7 separate regions of the Homo sapiens genome follow, and all the other regions are linked to region 1. Evidence: promoter capture Hi-C in 16 types of primary human blood cells and fetal thymus (Javierre and others, 2016). All regions are on one chromosome and are shown on one strand. The core of a region is centred on a gene start or on the middle of the fragment in contact, and the rest is flanking DNA. Distances in the headings are between cores, read along the strand shown.

What was found. Contacts are between HindIII fragments. The CHiCAGO score rates a contact against its expected background, and 5 or more counts as called.
Region 2: a fragment that was not itself captured here is called in contact with the fragment with the promoter of MED6 in region 1 in 1 of 17 cell types (naive CD4 T cells); the score reaches 6.0 in naive CD4 T cells.
Region 3: a contact is called between a fragment that was not itself captured here and the fragment with the promoter of MED6 in region 1, in 1 of 17 cell types (naive CD4 T cells). The highest score is 6.9, in naive CD4 T cells.
Region 4: a fragment that was not itself captured here is called in contact with the fragment with the promoter of MED6 in region 1 in 4 of 17 cell types (naive CD4 T cells, naive CD8 T cells, total CD4 T cells and 1 more); the score reaches 9.1 in naive CD4 T cells.
Region 5: a fragment that was not itself captured here is called in contact with the fragment with the promoter of MED6 in region 1 in 6 of 17 cell types (total CD4 T cells, naive CD4 T cells, naive CD8 T cells and 3 more); the score reaches 8.7 in total CD4 T cells.
Region 6: a contact is called between a fragment that was not itself captured here and the fragment with the promoter of MED6 in region 1, in 1 of 17 cell types (naive CD4 T cells). The highest score is 5.0, in naive CD4 T cells.
Region 7: a contact is called between a fragment that was not itself captured here and the fragment with the promoter of MED6 in region 1, in 1 of 17 cell types (naive CD4 T cells). The highest score is 6.0, in naive CD4 T cells.

The regions. Positions count from the first base shown.
Region 1 is chr14:70,598,072-70,602,360 of GRCh38, reverse strand. MED6 (mediator complex subunit 6) reads left to right here and starts at 1,706. Exons shown (of 8, transcript NM_005466.4): 1 at 1,706-1,745. The coding sequence starts at 1,724. RefSeq lists an enhancer at 1,005-2,204. The HindIII fragment of the contact is 992 bases long and covers 860-1,851 here.
Region 2 is chr14:71,051,837-71,056,125 of GRCh38, reverse strand. PCNX1 (pecanex 1) reads right to left here. Exons shown (of 36, transcript NM_014982.3): 24 at 4,114-4,243; 25 at 564-622. Among named protein-coding and RNA genes, the nearest start is that of PCNX1, 150 kb to the right of the region's middle. The HindIII fragment of the contact is 1,627 bases long and covers 1,681-3,307 here.
Region 3 is chr14:71,020,622-71,024,910 of GRCh38, reverse strand. It overlaps PCNX1 (pecanex 1), which reads right to left. Exons shown (of 36, transcript NM_014982.3): 13 at 1,679-1,711. Among named protein-coding and RNA genes, the nearest start is that of PCNX1, 120 kb to the right of the region's middle. The HindIII fragment of the contact is 751 bases long and covers 2,155-2,905 here.
Region 4 is chr14:71,002,043-71,006,331 of GRCh38, reverse strand. All of the region lies in intron 8 of PCNX1 (pecanex 1), which reads right to left. Among named protein-coding and RNA genes, the nearest start is that of PCNX1, 97 kb to the right of the region's middle. The HindIII fragment of the contact is 5,736 bases long and covers 1-4,289 here.
Region 5 is chr14:70,978,801-70,983,089 of GRCh38, reverse strand. All of the region lies in intron 6 of PCNX1 (pecanex 1), which reads right to left. Among named protein-coding and RNA genes, the nearest start is that of PCNX1, 73 kb to the right of the region's middle. The HindIII fragment of the contact is 3,810 bases long and covers 510-4,289 here.
Region 6 is chr14:70,950,460-70,954,748 of GRCh38, reverse strand. All of the region lies in intron 2 of PCNX1 (pecanex 1), which reads right to left. All of the region lies in intron 1 of LOC105370557 (a long non-coding RNA gene), which reads left to right. Among named protein-coding and RNA genes, the nearest start is that of PCNX1, 45 kb to the right of the region's middle. The HindIII fragment of the contact is 326 bases long and covers 2,368-2,693 here.
Region 7 is chr14:70,913,227-70,917,515 of GRCh38, reverse strand. The region is part of intron 1 of PCNX1 (pecanex 1); the gene reads right to left. Among named protein-coding and RNA genes, the nearest start is that of PCNX1, 7.9 kb to the right of the region's middle. The HindIII fragment of the contact is 4,522 bases long and covers 1-4,265 here.

The DNA of each region.
Region 1 (4,289 bases), core at 457-2,956:
TCTTGTCTTCTCTTGTTTTTGTTACCACACTTTTTAATTTATATTTCTTTATTAACTGAAACAATTAATATAAAAGAAATAGAGATGGGATCTCGCTATCTTGACCAGGCTGGTCTCCAGCTCCTGGGCTCAAGCAATCCTCCCATCTTGGCCTCCCAAAGTGCTGGGATTACAGGCGTGAGCCACCTTGCCCTGTCTTCCTCAAGTTATCTTTCTAAAATGGAAGCTTGATCACATTTCTCCCATTGCCTACAAAATAAAGGTTGAGCTTCCAGGTCTTATTTACCATGCATACCATATGTTTTATTATCTACAGATCTGCATTCTGTCACTATTCTTCCTAATCTCCTTCTAGCCTAATCAAAACACAAGGAAACAAAAAACTAGAAAAACAAAACAAAAAGCTTTATGGATCACACTTTTTATTGGACACGATACTCTTCCTTTTTGCAATGTCCTCCCACTAGGCTCCCAACCAGGCCCTCCTGAAAAATTCTCTCTCAAAACTTTACTCTGTGCATGCACATACTTCTGTTGGGACACCTATTTTATACATACCATCTCAGGCAGAAAATTCCCAAACTGAAATGTACAGGCAACGTACTTTTATTCTACGGAGTTAACAAATTTTTAATTCCTTGTCTATGAGGTTGAAAATCCCAATTAAATTTCTGGTCTTCCCCTCTTGCTCCTGGGTTGTGGTTAAATTCTTGGGGAGTCTTCACAGTACCTAAGTTTTGGAGAAGATGTAGGCACCCGCCCTCATCCCTCCTTCAGATTTTGGCATCCTCTTCCTAGTATCTGTGTGTTGTTTGCATATTTCTGTATCGTTTTGCTTTTACAGAGCCACACTGAAGCTTGAGAATCTGAGGCTTTCTGTAGCTTCCCCGTACACAGAATCATTCCCTCTTTGGAGCCTTGCTACCTACTCCAGACTACTTGGAATGCAGACATTTGCTCATTACTCTGGGACCCAGGGGTATTCCCTTTCTCTTAATCTTATTAATATTTCACTTCAGAAGCATTTCCTGTGTTGTGAAATTTTTCTCAGAGGCTTCTTTAATTGGTTTAGATTTTTAATGGATTTAGTCACATAAAAGCCAATGACTCCCAAATTCTTAAGTCCTGTCCCATCCCAATACCTGAGGCAGGGAGAAAAATATAAATGACCATCGTTCCTAAATCTGATAGCTCAGTGGATACACCCGGGGAGCTTTTAAAATTAAGAGACACTCCCAAGCACAACTCTACAGCATCAGAATTTGTTTTCTTGACGATCACAGACGATCAAGGCAGAATTCTTCCATCAGTGGTGGGCGTGGGGCGGGACTCCACTCGGTCTTTCTGTCCTCTAAGTCTTCTAATTTTTTTCCCAGTAATCCGCCCTCCCGTTCTCCTTCTTTGGCCCATCCCTCTTCTAGTCTTTCCCTGCTCCCCTGCACCAATCTTTCTGCGTCCCGTCCCCTCCCATTCCCCTACCCCACCCCACCCCACCCCACCCCACGTTTCCCGCCTCCCGCGCCTCTCCCGCTTTCCGCCCCCTCGCGTCTCCTCCCCTCCCACCCGCACCTCCACCCCCTGCCTCTCTCCTGCCCGCCCCGCCCCCTCTTCCGCTCTACGTCCCTCCTCACCCATGCGCACTCTCTTCAACCCGCTGCTTCCGGCGGCCTAGGCTTACGTTTACTTTGCGCCGGAAAGAGAACCTGTAAACGCTCTCGGAATTATGGCGGCGGTGGATATCCGAGGTATACTGTATTGCTATATTTTGTCTCTTGATTGTCTGTGGACCAGTTTGGGATGTTATAGCTCGCGGTTTCAAGGTTTAGGTTCCTTTGTGTGAAGTCTCAAGCTTTTTTGAGTGGTTTTTGTGGACAACCCAAGGCTGTGATCTAGCGAAACGTTGACGAGTTTTTTTTTTTTTCTGAGTTCTTGGAGCGTCTCTTGGAAGCGTCGGAGAGAAGGGGTTGGAAGAAGCTCTGGGTTTTGAGCTTTCAGAGCTGGAGTTTTGTTCTACACACGTATCTCTGCAACAACATTAGGGCTATTCTATTGGAGTGAAGGAATGGCGTTTAGGCAGAGAAGGGAATGGGGTAATAAGCCAACTTGATTTGATTCATCTCTTGGGACTTGGCATGGTGGCTGCCTAATTCTTTAGACCGCGCCACACGGGTCCCTGAGCATGAATCCCAGATATTTTCTTTTTTTTTGAGTCGATAATACTTTACATCGAACGTCCAGCAATTATTATGGGCAGGGGTCGTATTTTTTTCACAGCTGAACTGCAGAAGTACTCAAATATTGAATCAGTCAGTGAATAAATGTATGGAGATGTCACCCCTTAACTGCTGCTTGATCTTGGGGAGCATGTAGAGTTGTTTTTGTGTATATAGTACTTGATTTTTAAAGGGAGATGTTTGAGATGCCTTTTTTTAATATTAACTGGATTGGGGTCTAACACATTTATTACAAATATTCTCATTTATACTTATCTGGCGATCTGCAGCACTTCTGGATCATGATTTTACATACGTGTCTTTCATTATTTATTTCATCACTTGCTGATGGTTAGAATGCTGTTAGAATGCTTGGGCTATGTCAACATGTTGCCTTGCTACAGAATAAAAAAGAGAAATATTTAGTTTATAAAATGTTTTACTTATAATTCAGATTGTTAGGATCATGGCAAAGACTCTAAAATAAGAGTGTGTTTGGTGTGTTAAAGGAACAGCAAGGAGGTCAGTGTGGCTGGAGGGTAGTGAGAGAGGATGTGGGAAGGAGATGAAGTCAGAAAGGTGTTGAAAGCTATGATAAGGTCTTTGGCTTTTCCTCTGAGTAAAACGCAGAGCCATTGGAGGGGTTTCCATCAGAGGAATGATGTGATCTGACTTTTTTTTAGGACTACATTGGCTGCTGGGAACAGTGTAGGAGGGCAAGGGTAGAATTAGGAAAACCAGTTAGGAGGCCATTTCTGAAAATGTTATTTCCTGGCCTGTTGTGTATTTGGTTATTGCATGATCCAGTTATGATGAACTATCTAAATGGTCTATACTAATTATTTGGTTATTAACGCACTTCATCTGTCTCCTCCTTTATTTTATAGCACACAAAGTACATTTTACCTTTATATAATTTTTCTCGGTTGAGTCACTTGGCTCAAAACTGCCTGTCACCTTGAATTAGGTCTGACTTCTTTGAAGATGCCTGAGGTAATGACAGTATAAGAGAGATTGAAGTTTTTCAACCAGTATTGTATAGGCATTTTGATGTTCATGATTTACACCTAGTGGTGTTCAGTACAGTCAGTGGTATGAAGCATCATGAAAGCCAATAGCCAATACAAGCTCATTTATTAAAAGTATCTAGCTCTATCATGTCTTTTTAAAAGCTATGATTTAATTCTACGCTAAATATGAAACCGTGTGGCTGTAGTTAAGGGAACTCTACTTCCTGTTTATCCCTTAGCTTTTACATCATTATCATCTCATCTACAATAATAGCTTCCTAACTTCTCTATCCCTAATTGAGAGATCTCAAACTGGTAGCTATAGATGTGTTCTCTTGGGCATACATGTTATTTGAAAATTTTGAATTCCTTGCCAGCATTAAGGATTTCCAATAAAAAAAAAAGTCCTTTCTAAATTTTAAATCTTATCACTTCTTCACCTAATGAAATTATTCTCTAAAGATATAATATACTTTATATTTTTACACCTCTGTATATACATTCTCTCTGCTTGGAATTACTTTGCCCTTTTCTCTGTGTAAGTTTTTATTTATTCTTTAACATACCGTGCTAAAACCCACCTTCTCTCCACATGAAAAATGATTTTCGTTTCCCCAGGTCCTCTGTAGTCTCGTAACACATTTCTTCATGTCTTTTTTTTTTGAGACGGAGTCTCGCTCTGTCGCCCAGGCTGGAGTGCAGTGGCGCGATCTCAGCTCACTGCAACCTCCGCCTCTTGGGTCCAAGTGATTCTCCTGCCACAGCCTCCCGAGTAGCTAGGATTACAGGTGTCCACCACCATGCCCGGCTAATTTTTTGTTTTGTTTTTTTTCTTTTTTTGAGACGGAGTTTCACTCTTGTTGCTCAGGCTGGAGTCCAATGGTGTGATCTCGTCTCACCACAATCTCCGAGACCTTCTGGGTGCAAGCGATTCTCCTGTCTCAGTCTCCCAAGTAGCTGGGATTATGGGCATGCACAAACACGCCAGGCTAATTTTGTATTTTTAGTAGAGACGGGGTTTCTCCATGTTGGTCAGGCTGGTCTCAAACTCCCAACCTCAGGTGAT
Region 2 (4,289 bases), core at 1,245-3,744, 450 kb before region 1:
TGACAGATTACTATTGGGTGGGCCAATAAAATGATGTTTCCCAAATGACAAAACTAAGAACCAGACTTTAGATAATGGTAACACCAGCAAGGTGTCACCCACTGAAGCTCTATCCTGACTGGCTATATGCTCCCACTTGATGACATCTCTGTAAACAATAAACTGAATCAAATTAAATTAATATTGACCAAAACATTGAGGGAAGGGTGGAAGGAAACATACTAATAAAACATGTGTCAGTCTGACTGCAGACCCTTCAAACATCTGACCAGTTTTATTTTAACTGTTTTTCTACATTTTAACCTATGTAAGAACAATCTTTGAATGGAATTTTTCATTCTTATAAGCATTCTTAAGATGCATTTTATAAAAAGATGGGCATATAAACTGTAGATACTGTAATTTATATATATTTTGCTAAAGTAAAACAAATAATATTTAGTTTTTAAAAGTGAATATTTGGGATTCATAGAGGATTCCCAACAAGTTAGGAGTGAATATAAACATATATATATAAAACAAATCCTTAGTCTTGCCTCCTTAGTCACAAATAGAGCTATTACCTGGATTTCTATCAAGCTGGGAAGCCAATCTGGTATTTGAATGATCCACTCGTTTTGTGCTAAAGAAAATAAAACATTTTTAGTAACTTTCTTTACATTAAAAAATATTTAACAATTTAGACTGAGGAAGAAACTATAGGAAATGTATAAAATAAAGGTTATCACTTTATGAAAATCTCTGGAAAAAATCTGTGATTAGTATAATGATAAAATGCCTTAGCACACTTTTGGAAATTAAAAAAAAATTCTTCCCCCTTCACCACACATGAACATAGCAGTTTTTTTTTTATTGTACAGTGTATGGAAAGACATCTAGGCATGCACTGTGAGAAAAAAGCTGACCAGGATGAAAAAAATGTATACTGTATATGGTTCTTAAAAATTCAAAGAGGTTAGAACATTCTTTGCCAAAGGAAGGTGTATGTATTAATGCTCAGTGATGCAATGTTCTTTGGAACAGTAGTTCCCAAAATGTGGTCCACAGAACCTAAGGCTCTTTCAGGCAGTTTTCCAGATCAAAACTATTTTCAAAGTAACACTGAGCTGTTATTTGCTTTTTACACTGTGTTGACAACTGCACTGGTGGTACTAAAGCAATGGTAGGTAAGACTGTGGTGCCTGGGCATTAATCAAGGCAGCAGCACCAAACTGTTCTACCCTTCGCTGCCACACTTGCACAATAAAGCAAACAAAAAGTCCAAGTTTCACAAAAAAATGTCCCTAATGAAGCAATAAAAAGTATTAACCTTAATAAATCTCAACTCACAGTAAAGGCCTTTTTAATACTCTGTATGGCAAAATGAGAAAATACGTATGAAGCACTTCTGCTGCCTTCTGAAGTACAACGGCTGTCATGAGGGCAAGTATTTGTGCAACTGCTTGAACTCCGAGCTGAACTAGCTGCGTTTTTTTCTTGGAACACCATTTTTACTTAACACTGATGGAAAAATTATGAGATTATTTAGATGTGGTCATTTAACAGATATTTCCCAAAAATAAAGAAAGTGAGCCTGTTATTTCAAGGAAAACAACTGGCAATACTTGTTGACAATAATAAAAATCCAAATTTTCAAGCAAAAATTAAAATTTGGGAAACTCCTATCTACCACCATAAGCTTGACAACTTCCCAATAATTAAAATTTCTTTCCGATTGGTGGTGATGCCAATGAACATATTTTAAAATTCACTACATAATAAAATGTATCAACATTTAGAAAATCTACATTACTCAGTGAAGCAGTATTTTCCAAATGACCAACACAAAATGTTAAAAAATTATGCATGGGTAAAAGATCCATTCAGGATATAAGACAGATGAGTGAATTTTGATGTAATATAGTCCCACAAGTTCACAGATATGGTTTTAGATTCCATATTGCAAGTAGCTTTTAAGAAGCTCCCATTTCTTGGGTTTCAGTGAAAGATCAAAGAAAAATATCCATGATTGTCTTAAAAGGCTATTAGAATACTTCTTTTTTGCCTGGGCAAGGTGGCTCATGCCTGTAATCCCAGCACTTTGAGAGGCCAAGGCAGGCAAATCACTTCAGATCAGGAGTTTGAGACCAGCCTGGCCAACATGGTGAGTGAAGGTGAATTTTTTTTTTCAGCTACTTCAATCAAAACAATATACTGCACCTGACTGAATGTACAGGTAGATACAAGAATCCAGCTGTCTTTTAATAACCCAGACATTAAGAGATTTGCAAAACTATATAACAATGCCACTCTTCTCACTAATTTTTTGGGGGAGTGGAAATATAGTTATTCTTAACTTTAAAATGTTATTTATGCTAATATACAATAGATACGACATTGTTATTTTTAAATTAGTTAATAAGTAAACATTTGAAATTTTTGAGTTTTTCTTTCCACTCTAGTAAATATTAGTAGATAAAATCCATATTTTTAAAACTCTGGTGTTTCCAATAATTTTTAAGACCATAAGGCCGGGCACAGTGGCTCACGCCTGTAATCCCAGCACTTTGGGAGGCCGAAGCGGGTGGATCACCTGAGCTCAGAAGTTCAAGACCAGCCTGGTCAACATGGTGAAACCCCATCTCAACTAAAAATACAAAAAATAGCCAGGTGTGCTGGTGGGCGCCTGTAATCCCAGCTACTCGGGAGGCTGAGGCAGGAGAATTGCTTGAACCTGGGAGGCGGAGGTTGCAGTGAATCAAGATGGCGCCATTGCACTCCGGGAGGCGGAGGTTGCAGTGAGTCGAGATTGTGTCATTGCACTCCAGCCTGGATGACAAGGGCAAAACTCTGTCTCAAAAAAAGAAAAAGAAAAGAAAAGAAAAAAAAAGAGTATAAAGGGGTTCTAAATCCAAAAAGTTAAGAACTGCAGCCACTGAACATTACTTTGGGCTAATTGGTCCAGAGGAATAATAATTAATAACACCAAAATTCACCAAAATGGGAAATATCATGTGTGGTTTTAGATAAAGGACCAGAGTAAAAGTTTCAAACCTACAAACTAGCCCACTGTTTAAAAGGTGAGATTACAATTTTCACCTATTAAATATGCCAATTTGTGAAAGTATAGAGAGAAAGGCAGTCATGGAGATGGTCAGTAGAATTATAAATTAGTACAAGCTCTTTCTAAACCAATGTGTTTATATTAAAAGCCTTAAAAATGTTTATGCTCCATAACTCATAACTCCTAAAAGCGTTCCCTTTTAGGAACGCTTTCTGAAACAAAATGAAATTTGGAGAGATTACATACAAGGATAGTTACTAAGCTTCAGATTAAGTAGCTAGCCCAAGGAACTAAGCCTAAATGGAGAAAATACTTCATGCACAAAGATGGTCATTACAAACTTATCTTCTCAAAATAGCAGAAATAACCTATAAAAATTTAGCTTTAGAAATAGCCAGGTATTTCTAAGAAAACTATAACTCATTATGACTGTTATAACGATATTATATAGCATAAAGTTGCAGAGTATTATTAATGTGAAATAATTCAATATTACTGAAAGAAAAAATATAAACATGAACATATTCAATCAGAACAATGTTTAAAAATATCTTTTAAGTAGGAAAAAATGGCTGAGCACAGTGGCTCATGCCTGTGATCCTAACACTTTGGGAGGCTGAGGCGGGTGGGTCACTTGAGCTCAAGAGTTTGAGAGCAGTATAGGCAACACAGTCAAACTCCATCTCTACAAAAAATACCAAAATTAACCGACGTGGTGGCTCAAGCCTGTAGTCCTCGCTATTCAGGAGGCTGAGGCAGGAGGATCACTTGAGCCCCCCAGGAGGTGGAGGTTGCAGTGAGCAGAGACGCACCACTGCACTCCAGCCTGGGCAACAGAATGAGACCCTGTATGAAAAAAAAAAAAGGAAAGAAAGAAAAATAAAAAGTAATTTCCTCTGGCCTCTTCTTTTATATACTTTTCAAATTTTAAGACTATTTATTAAGTTTTAGCAAAAATAAATATTTCAACACAATAAATTATGAACCATAAATTCTAATAATAATGCTGTCAATAGTTTTTCCCAGTAGGAAAGATAAAAATTGTTTTTCAAGTGTTTTACTTTACTCACTTATAGTCTCTCTCCCAGAATTTCACAGGTCGGACATATGAAGTGATGAATATTGCACTTCCCAGAAAGGGGTTCAGTGGAGTAGAGAAGAAGGCCGAGACAGCAGCCTGAATAAACAGCATGGCTGAATCTATGGGAAAACTAGTTAAGGACACTGACATTCATCTGAGCACAGA
Region 3 (4,289 bases), core at 1,281-3,780, 420 kb before region 1:
ACAGTAGAGTAATGGTTCTTAAGAAAGTGGGAGGGGGTTTTGCTCCCCAGTGCACATATGTGAATATCTGGACACATTTCTGTTGTCACAATTGGGGAAGTGGTGCTACCAGCATCTTGTAGGTAGAGGATGCCAAACATCCTACAATGCATTGGACAGCATTCCGCACCCTCAAGCAAAGAATTAGCTGGCCAAAATGTTAATACTGCAGAAATTTCAGACACCTTGAAGACAATACCCTTAACCAGAAGATCAAAATTAACATCACTAGTAACAGGATAAATTAGTATGTGCTTTCTAATATGATGCACTTTTGCAGTATTCCTACTTTAAAAAGCACGGCCTTATCAAATCAGAAACATCATCAGCACCATAAGACAGGGTGAAAAATAAAAAAAAAAATTTTTTTAAAGAAAAAACATCAGACAAACTCAAATTGAGGGATGGTCTATAAAATAACTGGCCTATATCTATCAAAAATTTCAATATCATGAAAGATAGCTTCCAAAGAATTGCTCCAGATTAAAGGAGATTTAAGAGACTAAACATAATCAAGGACTTTCTATTGCCAATGAAGACAATGGGCAAAACCTATTTGAATAAGATCTATATATTAGAAGACAGCATTGTACCAATGTTAATGTTCTAATTTTGATAATTATCTTGAATTAACTAACATAAAGGAATATCTTTGTTTCTAAGAAACACACTGAGATATTTAGAGATAAAGGGGCATCATGTCAGCTAGCAGAGAGAAAGAAGGAAAAATGATCATGTGCTAGAAAGGGATTAAGCAAATATCATAAATGTTAACTTGGGGATCTGGATGAATAGTATCTGAAATTCTTTGTACTGCCCTTCCAACTTTAAGTTTGAAATTACGTCAAAATAAAAAGTTGAAAAGCAATGTTTCCATATATCATTACACTTCAAAAATATTCTTACAAAACAGTAATCAGTCAAAAACAAAAACCACACTTGCCTCTTTGTTTTATTTTGCTCATCCATTCCCATTATTCATTATTCCAGTGAAAGGATTAAAAAAATTATATTCAAGGAAAAAAATCATAAACTATTCATGAAGTCTATTTTTGAACTACTTTAAATAGAATATCCTCTGTTCTATTAAAACCTCAATTTACATCTAAAATTGGATCCCATTTCACAATAAATAGTGCTAGGCAGATAATATTTTTGTCTAAAGTCACGAAGTGAATAACAAAGTTTTTATTCAATGGTCTTAACACCAGACTCAGGTATTACTTCTTTATTCTTGCTCCTAATGGTTACTCAAGTGAAATAATATAAAGTTTTTCCTACTTCAAAATTCTATTTTCAATACCTATTCATAAGCTATTATTCAAAATGTATTAAACACAAATAATCATGAGTTTATAAGAACCATGTCTACTCCCTGAAACAGACTATCAAAAAGTGAATTATCATGCTCATTTTCAACCAAGATTTAGAGTCCACAAGTACAATGTCATTTTATTTCAAGCTAACAAAACACCTATATTTCTAGTAGTGTGTCAAAACATAGATGAGGAAAATAATAACATAAATTTTAGTTCAGGCTGATGCATTCCAAACAAAACAAAAAAACAAAAAACAAACCACAAATATTATGATAAATGTTAAGGACCTATAATGTACAGCCATATTAAGAGTGACTTACATGTCTGGGAGAAGAAGAATCTGGTTGAACACTCTAAAAATGAAACAGAAAGACAAATTACACTCCTGAAGTCTTGCTAATTTTACAACCAACTTTCAAAATGCCTGAAATGAATGATTTTAAGTAAATATTCCACAACCACAAAATGACCTATATTAATAATTCTGTTCCAGAGATGAAACATCAGCTCCAGATACCAGTGTCACTGTGATATTAAAAACATATCAAATCTTTCCTGATAAGAGTCAGGAAATAAGATTATTATGTATTTATTTGTATCTATCTTAAAGTTTCTGCAATAGCATATGATAGACAGAGCCATCTTACTGTTTGGCTTATTGCTATATACAAGTGGAGTTAAGGTATACTAAATACAAGTATAGTATTTCTCACAGGACATCATTCATTCAGGAAATATACAATAATAGGGGTTCACTTATAACAACAATTCTAGTTCTGCCCATAAATTCCAAGCTTACTAAATAATTCAATGGTATTTGTAATAAAGATATTATCTGCATTTTCATATCAAAATAATCAAATAAGTTAAGCTGTATCCTTTTAAGAGATTTTATTAACTTCCCATAAAAATGTTCAGAAGGTATTATGCAGCTACTTCCCTACTCATGACTTTTCTCCCAAGTTTCAGTTCATTTCCAATGGCATACCATACAATTTCACTAGGATTATCTATCACCACCCTACCATTCGATACTGGGCCAAGCTCACTGAGTTTGGCATTTGGCCCTTGGCTAGATTTGACTCCAGATAATCTTTAAACTCTTTTAACCACAGCGCCTATCTTCTAAATGCTTCTGTTCTTGTCTTTCTTATCCCTGTTTATGACATTATTATTCTTCTAGTCAACTAGTTGCAAAAATCTGTCACCTTTTACCTTTTCCATATTTAACCACATTAACCTGAAAGCAGTGGACAAAATTAATTGGACCATGGAGACACTAGAGCCGCAAAATGAATTTAAATGATTTAGGGCACTAAAGGTATAGTGCAAGACTGACAACCAGTAATTTTAATATACAATCATTAAATGTCATCAAAGGGACTGGGTTACTTGTTATTAGTGATCAAGGAGGAAGGAGCAGTGACTCAAAGATTTTTAGCAGGTATATCACTGCCAAAAGCAAAGATATTGGGAAAGAAAAATTAACCAGGAGATGATTAATTTGCTATTTTTAAAATGTCTGTTAGATACACAGGACTAAAGCTTGCAAAAGAGGTGAAGACTTTGAGATATAAATCTGGAAATAACTCATATACAAAGGCAACAAATAAAGCAATAAAAAAGGATGACTTCACTGGAAAGGAACTGTAAACCGAGAAGATAACCACATAAGTCCTAGAGAATTCTCATAAATTAAGCAGTTGAAAGAACAAAGAGGGATCAACAAAGGAAAAGAGAGTCATCTGAAAAGTGAAAGAAACATGAGGGTGGTATAAAGTCATGATCAAAAATGAGGAGAATATCAAAATGGAAGAGTATACATAGGTATTAAATGATGTAGCATTCATAAAGCATGGAGACTTAAGAAAAGCAATTTAGCAATTAGAATGATCATTAGCAACCACAAAGACTATAATTTCAGTACTGCAATGAGGAAAGTATGGATGGGTCTTAAAGAAATAAAGCAGATGACCTAGGTGGCTTACTCCACATGTCTAGCTATAAATGGAGAAGAGAAAGAAAGGATGGACAGCTGTTAGTAAAAACAGAACTATGTCAATGGTTTTCCAGCTGTGGGAGGGCTTCTCTTCAAGGAGAACTACAAACCACTGCTAAGGAAATAAGAGAAGACACAAACAAATGGAAAAACATTCCATGCTCATGGATAGGAAGAATCAATATTGTGAAAATGGCCATACTGCCCAAAGTAATTCACAGACTCAATGCAACCCCTAGCAAGCTACCACTGACTTTCTTACAGAATTAGAAAAAACTACTTTAAATTTCATATGGAACCAAAAAAGAGCCCACATAGCCAAGACAATCCTAAGCAAAAAAAATAAAGCTGGAGGCATCACGCTACCTGACTTCAAACTATACTACAAGGCTACAGTAACCAAAACAGCATGGTACTGGTACCAAAACAGATATAAAGACCAATGGAACAGAACAGAGGCCTCAGAAATAACACCACACATCTACAACCACCTGATCTTTGACAAACCTGACAAAAACAAGCAATGGGGAAAGGATTCCCTATTTAATAAATGGTGTTGGGAAAACTGGCTACCCATATGCAGAAAACTGAAACTGGACCCCTTCCTTACACCTTATACAAAAATTAACTCAAGATGGATTAAAGACTTAAATGTAAGACCTAAAACCATAAAAACCCTAGAAGAAAACCTAGGCAATACCATTCAGGACATAGGCATGGCCAAAGACTTCATGACTAAAACACCAAAGCAATGGCAACAAAAGCCAAAATAGACAAATGGGATCTAATTAAACTAAAGAGCTTCTGTACAGCAAAAGAAACTATTTTCAGAGTGAAGAGGCAACCTACAGAATGGGAGAAAATTTTTGCAATCTATCCATCTGACATCCAGAATCTACAAGGAACTTAAATTTACAAGAAAAAAACAAACA
Region 4 (4,289 bases), core at 976-3,475, 400 kb before region 1:
CCAAGGGACTGCATCTCTAAAGACACATACACAAAAAGCTGATATGCCAGGCGCAGTAGCTCATGCCAGTAAATCTCAGCATTTTGGGAGGCAAAGTGGGAGGACTGCTTGAGCCCAGGAGTTCAAGACAAGCCCAGGCAACATAGTGAGACCTCATCTCTACACACACACACACACACACACACACACACACACACACACACACACACACACACACACACACACACAGACACACACACGTACTAGCTGGGTGTGGTGGCATGTGCCCATGGGCCTAGCTACTTGGGAGGTTGAGGTAGGAGGATCACTTAAGCCTAGGAGGTTGCGGCTGCAGCGAACTGTGTTCATGCCACCGCCCTCCAGCCTGGGCAAGAGAGTGAGACCCTGTCTCAAAAAAAAAAAAAAAAAAAGTTAAGATACCTAGTATTTCTTAGCAGTCTTATTGAATACTCAATAGTGACTGTTATTGTTCATAAAATTTGTTAATTACACACAACCATTCTTTTGAAGTAATATTTCAAAGTAACAACTATAGGTCAATGAATAAGTGATGAGCAACAGGAAGATGAGTAAAACTGGATACTCACTTAACACCAAGGATACTTGAAGCATTTGCCTAGAGCCATGAATGGTGCAGCAGGCAAATTCTGATAAACATTCACAAGACACTGATAAAAGACATGGGAAATGAATGGGATTCTCTAACTTACCCTATCAGTAAAAATCCTCACCATACAAAACGAAGTTGAGTACATCAAGAATTTTAAGAACAGTACTCACCTAAGAAACTCCAATTGCATTCCCCACCCCCCCTTTTTTTTTTTTAGACAGAGACTCACTCTGTCACCCAGGCTGGAGTGCAATGGCACAATCATAGCTCACTGCAATCTCAAACTCCTAGGTTCCAGTGATCCTCCCACCTCAGCTTCCTGAGTAGCTGGGGCTGCAGGCACACGCCACAGTGCCTGGCTTACTTTTTAAAACTTTTTTGTAGAGATGGGGGTCTTGCTATGCTGCCCAGGCTGGTCTCGAATTCCTGGGCCTAAGTGATACCTCCTGCCTCAGCCTCCCAACGTGCTGGAATTACAGGTGTTAGCCACCACGCCCAGCCTGTTGCATTCTTGACATCACTCATTTTTCTAAAGTTACCTATATGTATCTTGGAAGGAGGTGGTTACTAGAACAACAAATCATCCATAGTGTTTTTCTAATCTTCCAAGTACCAACAACAAAAGAGGTCTCTTAAATTTCTTGGATAATTTTCTTCTTTAACCACCTACCTCCCCCAACCTTCCCTTCATTCTGTGTCCTCCAAGCCTGATGCACTGTCTACACTGACTTCTCTTTTTTTAAGTATTACTCATAGGGCAGAGAGGGGCTATAAAAACAAAGAGAGATATATGGGCAGTAAATGTATAAAGTGAGTTTTTAAAAGACATTTGGGGGAACATATACATTCTATATGACTGAAGTACTCAATAATAGAAATGTTATTCAAGAAATAATCTGATGGAGATAGCACTGTGTTCATAATGCAATCTCAATGAATATATTATACTTTTAAAGAGAAGGCCTTTAAGATCAATTCTAATTTCTTGGATAGCACCCCCCTTATAATCATAAGTGGTGACTCAGTTTTTACCCACACAGAAATTACTCACTATATTGCTGCTTACTGGTTAATGCAACGGTCCCCAACCTTTCTGGCCCCCAACCTTTCTGGCATAAGGGACCAGTTTCATGGAAGATAACTTTCCTATGGATCCAGGGGATTGGAGGACGGTTTCAGGATGAAACTGTTCCACCTCAGATCATCAGGCATTGGATTCTCATAAGGAGTGGGCAACCTAGATCCCTTGCATGTGCAGTTTACAATAGGGTTCATGCTCCTATGAAAACTGAATGCTGCCACTGACCTGACAGGAAGCGGAGCTCAGGCAGAAATGCTCGCTCCGCACACCCTGCTCACCTCCTGCTGTGCAGCCCTGTTCCTAACAGGCCGCAGATCCATGCCAGTCCATGGCCTGGGAGTTGGGGACCCCTGGGTTAATGGACTTGTTTCTCCCTAGATTAGGGGAGAAATAAAAAGGTCAGAAAACTTTTCCTGTGAAGGGCCAGATAATACATACTTTAGGCTTCATGGGCCAGATAACCTCTGTTGCAACAATTCAAGTCTACAACTGTAACATGAAAGCAGGCATAAGACAATACAGAACATAAACACAAATTTTATTTATTTACAAAAACAGGTAGGTATAGAGCTGGACTTAGCCCACAGGCGGTGGTTTACTAACACCTGTCCTAGACCAAGAATCTTAGGCTCCAAAAACTTCTTTAATCCTCATGATACAATGGAAATCAGGTCACTATGTCCTTGTAACTTCAAGTTTCAATATTTAGAACAAGTCTTTTTTCTTAGTATGTGCAATGCTGTTCTAGCTTTTTAAATCAGAAGGATAAGGAAAAGGTAGGTATAAGAAGAAAGTCTGGTTTAGAAGACAGCTTTGGGGACTGGTAAGGAAAGACAGATATCTCTATTGCTTGGCAACTATAAGTGAGATTTACATACTGATATATTTTACTGACATGGCTATCTGATTATCTAGTTCTGAGTTAATAAAACATGCCTTAATTAATTGTTAAAAACTCCACTCCTGCTTGCTAATCCCCAAATCAGCTGAACTTTCCAAAAGTGAATGTACAAGTTCATATTTTGCTGTGATTTCATTATCCACTCACATTTTATTTCAAAAAGACAAGTTCTTCTTACTTGGGTAAAATAATCTATAATAACGACATTGATGACATTAAGACTGGTCAGGTAAACAAAAAGACAAGCCACAGAATGGGAGAAAATATTTGTAATTTGTATCTGACAAATAAGTTGTATTTAAAATATCAAAAGAACTCATACCTCAACAGTTAGAAGACCAACAACCCAGGCTGGGCGCAGTGGCTCATGCCCGTAATCCCAGCGCTTTGGGGGGCCGAGGCGGGCAGATCACCTGACGTCAGGAGTTCGAGACCAGTCTGACCAACATGGCAAAACCCCGTCTCTACTAAAAATACAAAAATAAAAAAATAGCTGGGCACGGTGGCACGCACCTGTAATCCCAGCTACTTGCGGGGCTGAGGTAGGAGAATCGCTTGAACCCAGGAGGCAGAGGTAGCAGAGAGCTGAGATTGCATCACTGCACTCCAGGCTGGACAACAAGAGTGAGACTCTGTCTCAAAAAAAAAAAAAAAAAAAAGAAGACAACCAACAACCCGATTTTTAAAATGAGTAAATTTCTGGACACACTTCACAAAAGAAGATATATATGTATGTGGCCAATAAGCACATCAAAAGATGCTTACTATCTTTAGTCATAAGAGAAATTCAAATTTAAACCACAATGAGTTACCATTCTATACCCATTATGTCTACAATTCTAAAGGCCAACAAAAGCAAATGTTGGCAAGAAAGGGAACTACTGGAATTTGGTGGTGGGGATGTAGAACTCTTTTCAAAAAGACAGTTCAGAAATTTTATTCACAACAGCCAAAAACGGGAAACAACACAACCATCGCCAGGTGAACAGATAAGCAATATACAGCCTGCTCATACAATGGAATTCTCAGCAGTAAGAAAGAACAAACTACTCACACATGCAAGCAGTATGATGAAATCTCAAAAAGCATTACACTACAGGAAAAGTACATACAAAAGGCTGTATACTATATGACTCCATTTATATCAACTGCTAGAAGAGGGAAATCATAATGATAGAAAGCAGATTAGTGGTTGTCTATGACCAGAGGCAGCAGAGAGATGGACTGCAACAAGGCACAGAGAATTTTTTGAAGGTGACAGAAACACTCGCATCTTGATTAAGGTATCTGACGGGTATACACATCTGTTAAAACTCCTTGAATTGTATACATTTAACAGATGCCATTTATTGTGCCTAAATTATATATCCATAAAATTGATGAAGAAACAAGAAAATAAAGACTGACCAGGTAAGAGTCTGATGAGCATGTAGCAGCAAACAGTCAGTGAAATTCCTACCAGATACTAAGATTTGGGGGAATTACATTGGTATTTGCCGTTCTGTTTCATGGTTCCATTTAAAAATTATTACTCATCAGAAAATTAAAAAGTAGTATATAAGAAGAAAGTTCATTACTACCCAAAGACAGCCACTGCCAAGAGTATTTTCTGTGTTCCTCTGAACGGAATCTTCCCCTCACTGAATTTCTGCTGGGCTTCTGTCCACCTAGTTAGAGACATTTTTCAGCCTCTCCCA
Region 5 (4,289 bases), core at 1,165-3,664, 380 kb before region 1:
ATGAACACATGTATTCGAAGTGACATTTTTGAGAGGGGACACATCCTTACAAATGAAAGACATCACTGTCTTTGTTTATATAATGAACCTACAATACATAAAGCATTTTCACATTTCTACAGTCATTAGGTTTAAGCTCATTGGAGTCTGACAGTTAACTGTGAGACAGGTCTAGACGGTTATTATTCCTGTTTTACAGTTGAGGAAATTGAGGCACAGATTTAATGGCCTGCCAGAATATTAAGACAGTAATTAGAGGTGGTATGAAAATGTAACCGTTGGATTCCCAGAACTTCACTGCTGAGAGAAAGAAAAACACTGTAATGTTTGTTCCTACTTGAAAAAATCTGGCATGGGCTGGTTTTGGGAATTCTATATACAAACATTTATTTGCTTCACCAATAAACACCACTTTTCTTGATATTGTTGTAAAGGAAGATAATTTTGCCAAACCTATTTTGCTGTATTTAATAAGCATTCTTCTGTGCAGTTTTATATATGTCTAAGCTTTTTTCACAGTAAAGAACATCTTTCCTTAATGAAATCAAGGTCAGCCACATATACAATGAGTATAGCATTATACTTTAATACAGTATTAAGTTATGCTATTATGATGTCTTTGAACACTATTAAAATGATAGTCTGTCCCTGCATTTAATGACCACACACCGCTGGGTTTCCTGCTTTGGCTTGTACAGTTATTACAGCTTCTCTTTTAGGGTTAGCTGTGTATTTCTTCTGCTGTCATTACTTCAGCTTCTATAAGTACCCATCCCTTCTACTAATTTACTGCTTCTAACTTTCCATGTGAACTGGGAAATCAGAAAATTAAGTTTATTAGACTTGAGAGTCCTTCTATTTAGTAAAGTACAAAAGCTACAATTTGCATTTTATTGTCTGTTTACTGGTCTTTATCTTCTGTCTAATGCTCAATGATATCTGGGTACAAAATAACACACCTTCAATTTATGTGTATAGCACAAACCCTCATAAATTTTTATTGAAAAGATCTGACTTTTCTTTAAATAATTGTTTCTTTGAAGATTATTTTTGGTTCCCAACACAATATTATATTAGGATCCTATTTCATGCTTACAGAATAGTGACTCAAACATTATATTTAAAATAAATTTCACAGAGAAATAGAAGTTAAACAATTCAGAAAAAAAGCACAAAGAATAGTAAGTAAACACAAACCTCTCCACTCGGGCTATTCTTTGTAATCCATTAAGTGACACAGAAAATATGCTATAACAACAGTATTGAATCACACAGGAAATAAGTTTAAACGGTCCAAAAGAAAACGACTTCCTTAAAAGTAATACAGGCTAGAAAACACAGGACATTTTTCTACCATATAGCTTCTATGTAGTTTTCATTTCTTAAAATATTAGTCATAAAGATATGCCTTATAATTTAAAAAGAAAAATTAAGTACAAAACAAGAGATCAACAGAAAATGACTTAGTTTGAACTTAAAACATATTTCCTGTCTCAGTAATCACAAACCATTATTGATGAAATTCAGTTTTAACCAAAGAACTTGACTAATGACAGGACGTATGAAAACAATCACTTGTTACGTGACTAAAAAAGATGTTATATGACATATTACTGCCAAAATAAGGTCCATGTCACTAAATTGATGTTAATAAAAATGTTTTTCCTATTGGCATTATGTAAGAAACTAGGGAATCAGAATTTTTTATTTTTACTATTGAGTTTCACAATGGCACACTTAGACTATCTCTAGTTTATTTCTACATTTAATCACTTTCTTCTACTTTAATTTTATACCACTGAATTAGTAAGGTTAAACGACAGGCTACACTGTGCAGCATAACTAACTGGCCTTGAACAGTCACAGCAGCACTAGTAAGCATTTACTGTGTGCCAGGAACTTAACTCCTTAGTCCTCACAACAACCCTATGAGATAGATACTATAATCATCTCATTTTAAGATGAGGAAGCTGAGGTTTGTAAGTAGCTTTCCTAGAGTCACAACAGTGGAGCCCACATACTAACAAAGGTATCTGACTCCATGTCACTAAACTAGATTACCTCCTATTTTAGCATACTTTATTTTAGTACTTTAAAGTCTATTTCCTAAATTCCATCTCTCTACACTACCACCACCACCTACCTTAAAATAAAATGAAAAGAAATCGTTGGAGAACTTATCGACACCTTCATATTCTTTAGGATAAAATCTACCTATGGTTTATGCATAGGTATATGAATGGCCAAGCAGTAACATGATGGTTGACAGGTTTCAGTAGTACAGTATGTAAGGAAGGATAGCCCAGAAACATTTCTTCTAAATTGTCAGACAGGACTGTAACAGATAATGTTAACATAAACAAGTATCTTTAAACAGTATTTGAGAGTCTCTGTAATTTTTAAATAATAAGAACCAAAACAAATCCCCTTCTACCACCTCCAACCTTTCAAAAAGCCCAAGTAAACTCCCAACAAAACCCCTATATTTAGTTATGATAAAAACCAATTAAAAAACCCCCAACACATTTAAGTGCTTTAGTTTTGCTCTTATTTGTATTCTAAACCCAATGAAGCTCAAATTAAAAAAGCCTGTGCAATGCCTGCCCCAGGCAAAAAAATGTTTTTAAACAGCCCACAGACTATTACATTTCTTCCACCAAAGCAGATATTTTTATTTCATTATCTCTTATTAACATTTAATTGAGTTATTTAAATTAAAAAAAAGCAGTACAAACAAAAGAAAACAAAAGCTAGAGCCTAGAAAAACAAGGGCTAATATAGCTTAAAGAACAGCACCGAGAAGCAAATAACACCTTTCAGGTAACTTTTCCTAAAAAACAGAACACCTCACAGTCCCCATGAAAAGGAAATGACATTTTAAATATAAACGCATGAATTTACTACATATTTTTGTACACATTTTTTCAGTATTTACATTTCCACAATATTCAGAACAGCAATATTTTTCTATCATAGCATGTTGACTTAAAATTCATTTTGATAACTTTAAAAATTAAGCTATATTTTAAAATCCAATGGTTTCTTGCATACTGTGAACATATCTGATATGATTTGTGTGAGAAATCACTACAAGCATTTCAGGTTGTTTACAAAAAAAAAAAAAAAGAGAGAACTATATCCAGGTCAAAGACTCGAGGGAATTTAATTACTCTACTGTCACCAAATGGTTATAACCACTTCAGATATAATTAGTTCTCAATATTTAGGTTTGATAAACTATATTCTTCTTTAGGTACTAGAAAATTTCTTTACGTTCCCATTAGAAATTAATCTGGCTAGAAACTTGACCCCCAAAAAAATCTAAGAAAATGTTTACCACAATATGGACTTTTAAAATACTTCGGGTGAAATTAACATCTTTGAGAAAAAGCATATATTCATATGTTTCATAATGTTTGTACAAACAAAATCCAGCTTAACTTTTAATAAATGACTGAACATTACTGTATCAAACAGACTATAACTTTAAAACTAATGATACAAGCATAAATAAAGGGAATAGGGGTAGAGGCTAAAAATGCTAAGGTACTAACAACAAAAGACCTGATTTTTCTGATTCTATTCAAGAAGCAGATTCCATAAAAACCAGAACCAAATAAACAAACTATCTTGGGCAGAAGAACACAGCAAGAAATAACTCTGAAATAAAGAGGCCAACACACACTGACAGAATATAAAATCACCTATCCAAATTTGCACAATTCTCCAAAAACCTGAAATAAATAAGCTATTACTTTAACCAGAACACCATCACTGTTATTATGGGGGCATCTTACATCAATTAATGGATACCAAATGTCAATATAAACTACAAATCTGAATTTAATAAACTTTAAGAATAATGTGTGAAATTATAGAAAAAAATAGTATTTTCGTAACGCCTAAAACTTGAGTAAGCAAGAAATAAAACCAAAGATACAGACTTAAAAAAAGAGCCACAATTCTCAATGTACATAATCAGATCTAAAGTAATATTTGTAAAACTCTTATATAATAGGCTGAGTGATCTAATTTTGAAAGTTCAGTGTCATATACTGTATAAGAGTTGATTAAAACTGGTTTGGTGCCCTTAAATAATTATATATTTTATTGTTGCTATTGCTATACAAAGGAAGAGGGCTAATTTTTGTTATTCCCAGCAAAACATTAACAGGTGGCAACTGGCTTAGAAACTGGTGTTCTTGACACCATCAAGAACAAATTGACGTATTCAAGTATTGCAACCAAAAAATATGTTCTTGGTGTTCATACCAAAACCTTTTCTAAGA
Region 6 (4,289 bases), core at 1,281-3,780, 350 kb before region 1:
ACAAGAAGTATAAGGACTAGAAAGTAAGAAATAATTGTGATCATATAGACAAGGGAACATCATTAATAAGGGGGTTTAATAAGATTGCTAGACACAAAATAAACTGCGACATTTTAGGGGGAAAAACAAAATTATACTAGCATAAATACTATAAAATCATAAATTTCCTTTTAATGGAGAAAATGAAAAACTATTACTGAAAGGTATTTAAAAAGACTAAATAAATGGAGAGATTCAATATTGTAAAGATGCAAATTCTCAGCAGAGGGACCTACAAATTTAGTGTAGCTCCAATAAAAATACCAAGTTCCTATAGACTTTCTCTAGCAGACTCTGAAGTTTACATCAAAAATCAAAGAGCCAAGAATAGCGAAGTCTCTCCTAAAAAAGAATATGGTAGGAGGTTTAACCCACTGGCTATCAAGAGTCATGTTTTAAAGCTGATAAGGATGGTATGGTAATGGCACAGGCAAGCAGATCAACAGAACAGAACAGAACAGAACAGAGAGCCCAGAAACAAGCCACCAGAAATGAAAATTTAGCTTATGCCATAGAGACTGCTGCAAATTACTAAGGAAAAGATAGTCCACTTAACAAATACTGGGTAAATCAGAGATTCATAAAGAAAAAAATAAGCCTTAAGAACCTACCTGATACTACAGACTTAAATAGCTTTGGGTAGAATTGAAATGTGAAAACAAAAGAAACATGAAACTTCAAAAAGACAATACAGAATACCTTTCTGATCTCCGTGTAGAAAATAATTCAGACACAAAAATGCTAGCCAGGCGCGTGGATCACGCCTGTAATCCCAGCACTTTGGGAGGCTGAGGCGGGTGGATCACCTGAGGTCAGGAGTTTGAGACCAGCCTGGCCAACATGGTGAGACCCCAACTCTACTAAAAATACAAAATTAGCCAGGTGTGGTGGCACATGCCTGTAATCCCAGCTACTGAGGAGGGAAGGCAAAAGACTAGCTTGAATCCAGGAGGCAGAGGTTGCAGTGAGCTGAGACTGTGCCACTGCACTCCAGCTTGGGCGACAAAAGTGAAACTCCAATTCATTAAAAAAAAAAAAAAAAAAAGAAAGAAAAAAACACAAAAAACAAAAAACCTGATTACTAAAAAGTGGTAAATTTCATTGTTCTAAATTTAAGAGTATATGATAATCATAAGAAACTTTAAGGAAAGCAAAATGACAAGCCACAAGTGGGAGATGACTGTAATATATACATAACTAATAAAGGAATAGCATGAATATATAAAAAAATAAAAAATTCCTATTAATCATTAAGAAAAAGACAGCTCCAAAGAAAAATGAAACAAAACATAAATGAGCATTGGAAAAAAGAAAAAACCTAAATGGACCATATATAAAAAAATAAAATGTTTAACCTCAGTAGTAATCAGAAAGCTTAACTGAAAGTCACAATGAGACACCTTTTACATTTCATGAATGGCAAATTTTTTCAAGACAGGGTCTTGCTCTGCCACCCAGGCTGGAGTGCAGTGGTGTGATCAAAGCCCACTGAACTCTTGAACTCCTGGTCTCAAGTGATCCTCCTGCCTCAGCCTCCCAAGTATCTGGCACTACAGGTGCACACCACCATACCTAGCTAAAATTTTTTTTTATTTTTTATTTTTTGTAAAGACAAGGTCTCACTATGTTGCCCAAACTGATCTGGAACTCCTGGCTTCAAGCTGTCCTCCCATCTCTCCCTCCCAAAGTGCTGGGATTACAGGCAGGAGCCACCTTGCCCAGCCAATTTTCTTCTTTTAAATCCCAAATCAATAGCTAAGTGAATGGAAAATTTTTAAGGTTTACCAATATCAAATGTTGATGAAGATGTGAACAATAAGGACTTTCATACACTACCGGTGAGAGTATAAACTGGTAAAATCATTTTGGCACACAGCTTGGAATTGCCTGATAAAATTGAACATGAAAATGCCCTATAAACCAGCTTACATAAACTAGATATACACATGTACCACAAGACAAAAAACACTAGAAATAATCTGAATGGCTATAAATAGAAGAATGAATAAATAGACTATGGTCTATTCTTACAGTGGCAGACTACATGTAGGTCAATATGAATAAACTCTAGCTACAAACATCACCATGCGTGAGTCAATAAAGTATAATATACTGTGCAAAAAAAAAATCTCTCATAGAGAAATGCATACTGTATGATTCTCTTAGGATGTCCTAAAGCAGACAAAAATAAATAAATATATTCAGGAATATCTACGAAGAGTGTGTAACAATAAAGAAAAGCAAGGGAGTTATTCACAAAAAATTCAAGATTATGGTTACTCCTGAAGGGAAAAGTGGAATGAAATGGGAGAGGAATGTCATGAAGCTTATATGGTATTTTTATAATGTTTTATTTCTTAAGCTGTGTGGTAGGTAATGAAGTAGTCACTTGATTATTGCTAACTTAGTGTTTGGAATACATATTTCACAATAAAAAATTTTTAAAGTAAAAGAAAATGGAAAAAACAATTCAGAAGCAATGACAAATATATATAATATCCAGAAATAATTAGAACAATTATCAAGTGTTACCATGTGTCAGGAATTATTCTAAGAACTCTCTATATATTATTTCATTTATTCATTGTAATAATCCTATGAGAGAGTTCCATTATTTTCCTCATCATTCTGACAAGAAAGCCAACTCAAAAGCTTAAGTAGCTTCTCCAATGTCTTACAATTAAGAAGCCTTGACTGACTGAGTGTGAAGTCTACATTCTGTCCACTTATCCACAATGTACGAATATGCATTTCTTAACAGAAATAGAATAGGCGTAGGAAATGTACAGAAACCATTTAAAAAATGTGAAAGGTTATAAGACATAAAAGATAAGTGAATAAAGAGATGATAAATAAAAACATAAGAAAATAAATGGAAATCTCTCATCTATATCCCTATTTTAAAAGTTGAGTTTCTACAATTTAATAGAATTGTCATCAAAATTCTAACGAAATTTTCTGGAGGATAAGCACACATGAAGATATCTCACAAAAGTAAGTATATGCATGAGAATAATCAAAATAATATCAAAAAAGGTCAGGTGTGGTGGCTCATACCTGTAATCCTAGCACTTCAGGAGACCGAGGCAGGCAGATTACCTGAGGTCGGGAGTCCAGCACCAGCCTGGCCAACATGATGAAACCCCGTCTCTACTAAAAATACAAAAATTAGCTGGGCGTGGTGGTGCATGCCTGTAATCCCAGCTACTTGGGAGGCTGAGGCAGGAGAACCGTTTGAACCTGGGAGGTGGAGGTTGCAGTGAGCCGAGATCGCACCACTGCACTCGTCTGGGCAACAGAGCAAGACTCCATCTCAAAACAAACAACCAACCAACCCCCGCCCCCCAAAAAAATAATAATATCAAAAAAGTAAAATACTGGAGTCACTCACAATGCTAAGTATTAAACATATTATAAAGCCACTATGATAAAAACAGTATGGTATAAATGAAAAAAGGCAGAAAGATGAAGCAGAAAACTAAGTTCAGAAACTAGCATAAGTATATACAGTATACTACATGAAAAAGAAAGCATCTAAATTTACAGGGAAAAAATTTGTTACTTAATGAATGGTGTTGTGATAAACAAACCTAAACAAATTAAGTTAAAATGTTTTCAAACTGACAACAATTTAAGAGTAAAAAGTAAAATGATAAAAATACTGAAAGTAGATACAAAGATCTTAATTTATTGTATATTTATATAATTTGAGGGAAGGAAAATCTTAGAAAACGTTATCAAAAGCAGAAATAACAAACACACAAAATTGGACCACAGAAAAATAAATTACAGGATATAAAGACACTGACAAATAAAATGCTATAAACTGAGGAAGAGTATTTGACACAGAAGAGCTAATATATTTTATTTAAAAAAAGTTCCAAAATCAATAGCAAAAAAAAATCCACCAATAGAAAAATATACAATTCACAGAATAACAAATATAAATGGCAATAAGAAAAATACCTCCATTTCACTAGTAATTCAAAAACGGGAATATTAAACAATAATTTATTTACATATTAAACAATATTAAACAATGAGATATCACAGTTTTTCAAAATACTAAATACTCAAGAGTTGTCAAAAGTGCAAAAAAAAGAGGCAGCTGAATTTCTGGTCATAGTCATTAAATGGTAAAATCTTGGGAATTTGGCAATACATATTGGAAAACTTATAAATGTGCATAGCATTTCTAGTAATTCCACCTCTGAAAAACTATGATAGAACATTTAATCATTGAAAATTTA
Region 7 (4,289 bases), core at 755-3,254, 310 kb before region 1:
CCTTGACATGGTACCTAGTTATCCAAGAGCTCTGATGGAGACATAGAAGAAAATTAATGTTGTTTTCATGCCTGCTAACACAACATCTATTCTCCAGCCCCATGGATCAAGGAGTAATTTTGACTATCAAGTCTTAGTATTTAAGAAATACATTTCATAAGGCTGTCAGACAGTGATTCCTCTGATGGATCTGGATGAAGTAAACTGAGAACCTTCTGGAAAGGTCTCACCATTCTAGATGCCATTAAGAACATACATGATTCATGGGAGGTAGAAATATTAACATTGACAAGGTGTTTGGAAGAAGTTTATTCCAACCCTCATGGATAACTTTGAGGGGTTTAAGACTTCAGTGGAGGAAATCCCACAGATGTGGTGAAAACAAAAAGAGAACTAGAATTGGAAGTAGAGCCTGAAGATGTGACTGGATTGCTGTAATCTCATGACACAACTTGAAAAGATGAGGAGTTGCTTCTTATGGGTGAGCAGAGAGAGTGATTTCCTGAGATCCAATTTGCTCCTGGCGAAGACGCTGTGAACACTGTTGAAATGACAACAAAAGATCTAGAATATTACATCAACTTAGCTGACAAAGCAGTAACAGGATTTGAGACAGCTGACTCTAATTTTGAAAGAAGTTTTACTGTGGGTAAAACGCTATCAAGCAGCATTACACGTACAGATAAATCTTTCATGAAAAGAAGAGTCAATTGATGCTGCAAACTTCATTGTTGTCTTATTTTAAGAAATTGCCACAGCCACCTCAACCTTCAACAGTCACCCCCTGGTCTGTCAACAACACTTAGGCAAGACCCTTCACCAGCAAAAAAATGACAACTCGCCGAAGGTTCAGATAATCCTTGGCATATTTTTAAGCAATAATGTATTTTTTAATTAAGGTATATACATTGTATTTTTAGACACAATGGTACCGCACACTTAACAGACTACAGCATAATGTAAATATAACTTTTATATGCACTGGAAAACCACAAAATTTGTGACTCATTTTATTGCAATATTCGCTTTATCGCAGTGATCTGGAACCAAACTTGCAATATCTCCAAGGTACGCCTGTACTCTCTTTCCCTGGCTCTTTTTTCGTCTTCATTTTACAACTCTGTCTTCCTTTGCTGATTTCTAAATGCTGTTTAGGCCTTGGAATTCTGTCCAAGGCCATTTTCTTTTTAATGAGATAAACTTTCTTCCCAGAAGATCTACATGCTGATAACTTGCAAGTAAATTTTACCCCAGATTTCTCTCCTGAACATTCCTCTTCGACACTCTGAATTCATGTTCTCCAATCTCAAAGATACCTTCAAAATTGTTCAACAATCCTACCATCCCTTGATAGTTCACTTTTCCACTTACCAAAAGTAAGAATAGCATGTCACATTTGGGGGATCTCCCTCAAACCTTAAATATCCTCTTCACCTCCTCTTTCACTCTCAACAGAACACACTCACTTTGTCCTCTAAGGAGATTACATAAATCATAAAAGATGAACCTCAACTTTTCCCATGAACTGTTTATCCCTTCCTCCATGATTTATCCCTTCATCCTTCATCCTTTATCCCTTCATCCTTGCCTCCTTCCTTCCTGCTCTGAGGATAATCCTTTAACACATGTGCTTTCTGGACCACAATCCTATTTTGTATTCCAGGAACCCTGCATTATCTACCCATTTCTCATTCTCATATTTATATTCTCTCTCAATATAAAGATTCACTCAGTATTTGTAAAATGAGTATTTATCAAAGAAGATAATCCAACAAGTCTATTTTTAGGAATTTATACAAAATACTAGTACAAATATTTAACTACAAGAGTATTCACCCTACTGTTTTCTAAATAGCTAAAACCTGGAAATGACTTACATAACCAGTAAGAGGTAAATGATTAAACTGTAACACATATGATCTACTGCAGAGCTATTAAAAAGCCACTTACCCCCAACCCATGGAAACACTCATAATTTAAAGTGAAAATAGGAGACTTGAAAACAGTATGAATTCTATGAGCCCATTTTTGTAATCAAAGTAGTATTTAAAACTCCAAATATATTTTGGTTACTAAAATGTTCTACAGACAGGGGTGATGGAATTACCAATGGCTGTATTTTCTTTTTACTTATCTATAATTTCTGATTTAGACAAATAAATCAGAACAGCTGAACAAAAAGATTTTTAAATTAAAACATGGTCTTATTTGGAAAGAGAAAAGGGTTTTGAGATTCCGTAAAGTTTTCCAGTGTCTTTGAGTTCTGATAAAACCTATCCTCATGTTGGCATCTTTACATATAGTAGCCAAAAACTGGGAAGAGCCTAGCTGCTCATCTACACGGGAATGGATAAAGGTGAGCAAACTGTAGCACAGTCATACAAAGGAATATTACTCAGCAATAAAAAGGAAAAAAGCTACTGATACAACACCATGGATTAATCTCAACCACGTTATGCTGAGTGAAGGTGGCTTACACAAAGCATGTGCTACATGATTCCATTTATATGAAATTCTAGAACAGGATAACCTAATTTATAATGAAAAAAAGTCAGAACAAGGATGAGAGGACTGACTCAGAAGGTCAAGCAGAAACTATCTGGAGTGACGCTGATATTCTACAACATGCCAAGTCTACACTACGCAAACGTGTGCATTTATCAAAACTCATCGAATGGTTCACTGAAGATTGTGCCTTTAGAACCTACCTGACAATGCACCTGCTGAAGAGTTTAGGGGTGATTTGTATAGAAGTGTAACTTAATTTACATGCATCTCCCTAAAAAAGGGTGGACAGATAGAGGAATAAAACAGATAGAGACACAATATTTAAAAACACAGAATCCAGGTGGTGGGTACAATTTTCTCAACTTTCCTATATGTTTGAAAATTCTTTAATAAAATGTTGAAAGATTTAACTCTCAGTAAAGTCAGCTAGAGAAAGCAAATTACCTGACTGAATCTGTGTATTCAAAGGCTAGAAAAAAAATAGAAACTTTCCTAGTTTTCCAATCACCAAATGATTTTATGATTTGGAGTAATTTTCAAGTGGGAGAAAACACTCCACCTTTACGTCACAAAAGACAGAACATTTTATAAATCAACTGCTTTTTTTGTAAATTAATACACTTTTCTACAAATTGACAAATATGGCTGCTTTCTTGGAGGTCTAATTTTCTTTTCCTTTAGATTCAGCAAGGTACATGTGCAGGTTTGTCACATAGGCATATTAAGTGATGCTGAGGTTTGGCTTCTAATGATCCTGTCACCCAAGTAGTGAACACAGTAGCCAATGTATAGCTTTTCAACCCTCGCCCCCTACCCGCTTTTGGAATCCCCAGTATTTATTGTTCCCTTCTTTGTATCTGTGGGTATCCAAATGTTTAACTCCCACTTATAAGTGAGAACATGTGGTAGATGGTTTTCTGTGTAAACCATCTTTGGACAGTGTACCCTTAATTTATTATAGGTAATATAATACATAAGAGTTATATCTGTGCCATGACCAGTTATGGAAATAATTAGACTCACTTTGATCCTAAATATTGAAAATACTGGTAAAGGGCACAGGCTAATAGATCTAAACAGGCCATCCACTAGTCATTAACCTTCCCCTAAAGGATGCAGAAAATAATACTTAAAAATCATATGTACAATATGCAATAGCAATATAAATTGCTAATTTATAGCACAGTAACTTTTCTAGCTTGATCTAAACTTTTAGAGAAATATAAATTTTAAAATATGAAAATCCCTGTTTTAGTCACCCTAACTAAATCTTGTTTAAAATGATCTTTAAATACTTTTAAATTGGGGGAAAGAAAATGACCTGAGAGCTTTAGCGTAATCCTCACTAATAAAAGATATATCATTCTAAAGATGACAAAGATCAGTTACAGAAAACAATGAAGACAACTAGGAAGAAAATGTTGAAACCTTTATAAATTTTGTTAATGATTTAGAGTCTGAATATAATCTCTCCACAGATTTATGTGGTATATATTACTGTATATATCATGTATGTATGTATAACCACACAGCTGTATGCACAAAAAGCCATACGTACTGCACTTTCAATGACTTAAGTGTTTTTCAAGGGTCATTTTGTATTTGATTTTTCAGTAATTTTATATTTGATTTTTGTCTTGTAGAGACTGACACCGAACCTAACCCCTAAGTAAGCAGCTCCACCATATGATACAGCCTACCACAATCCTCCCTCCACCTCCAACTATTCTACATCAGTTAACAAGTCTAAAAAAGCTTCACATGTATAATAAAAAATTCAT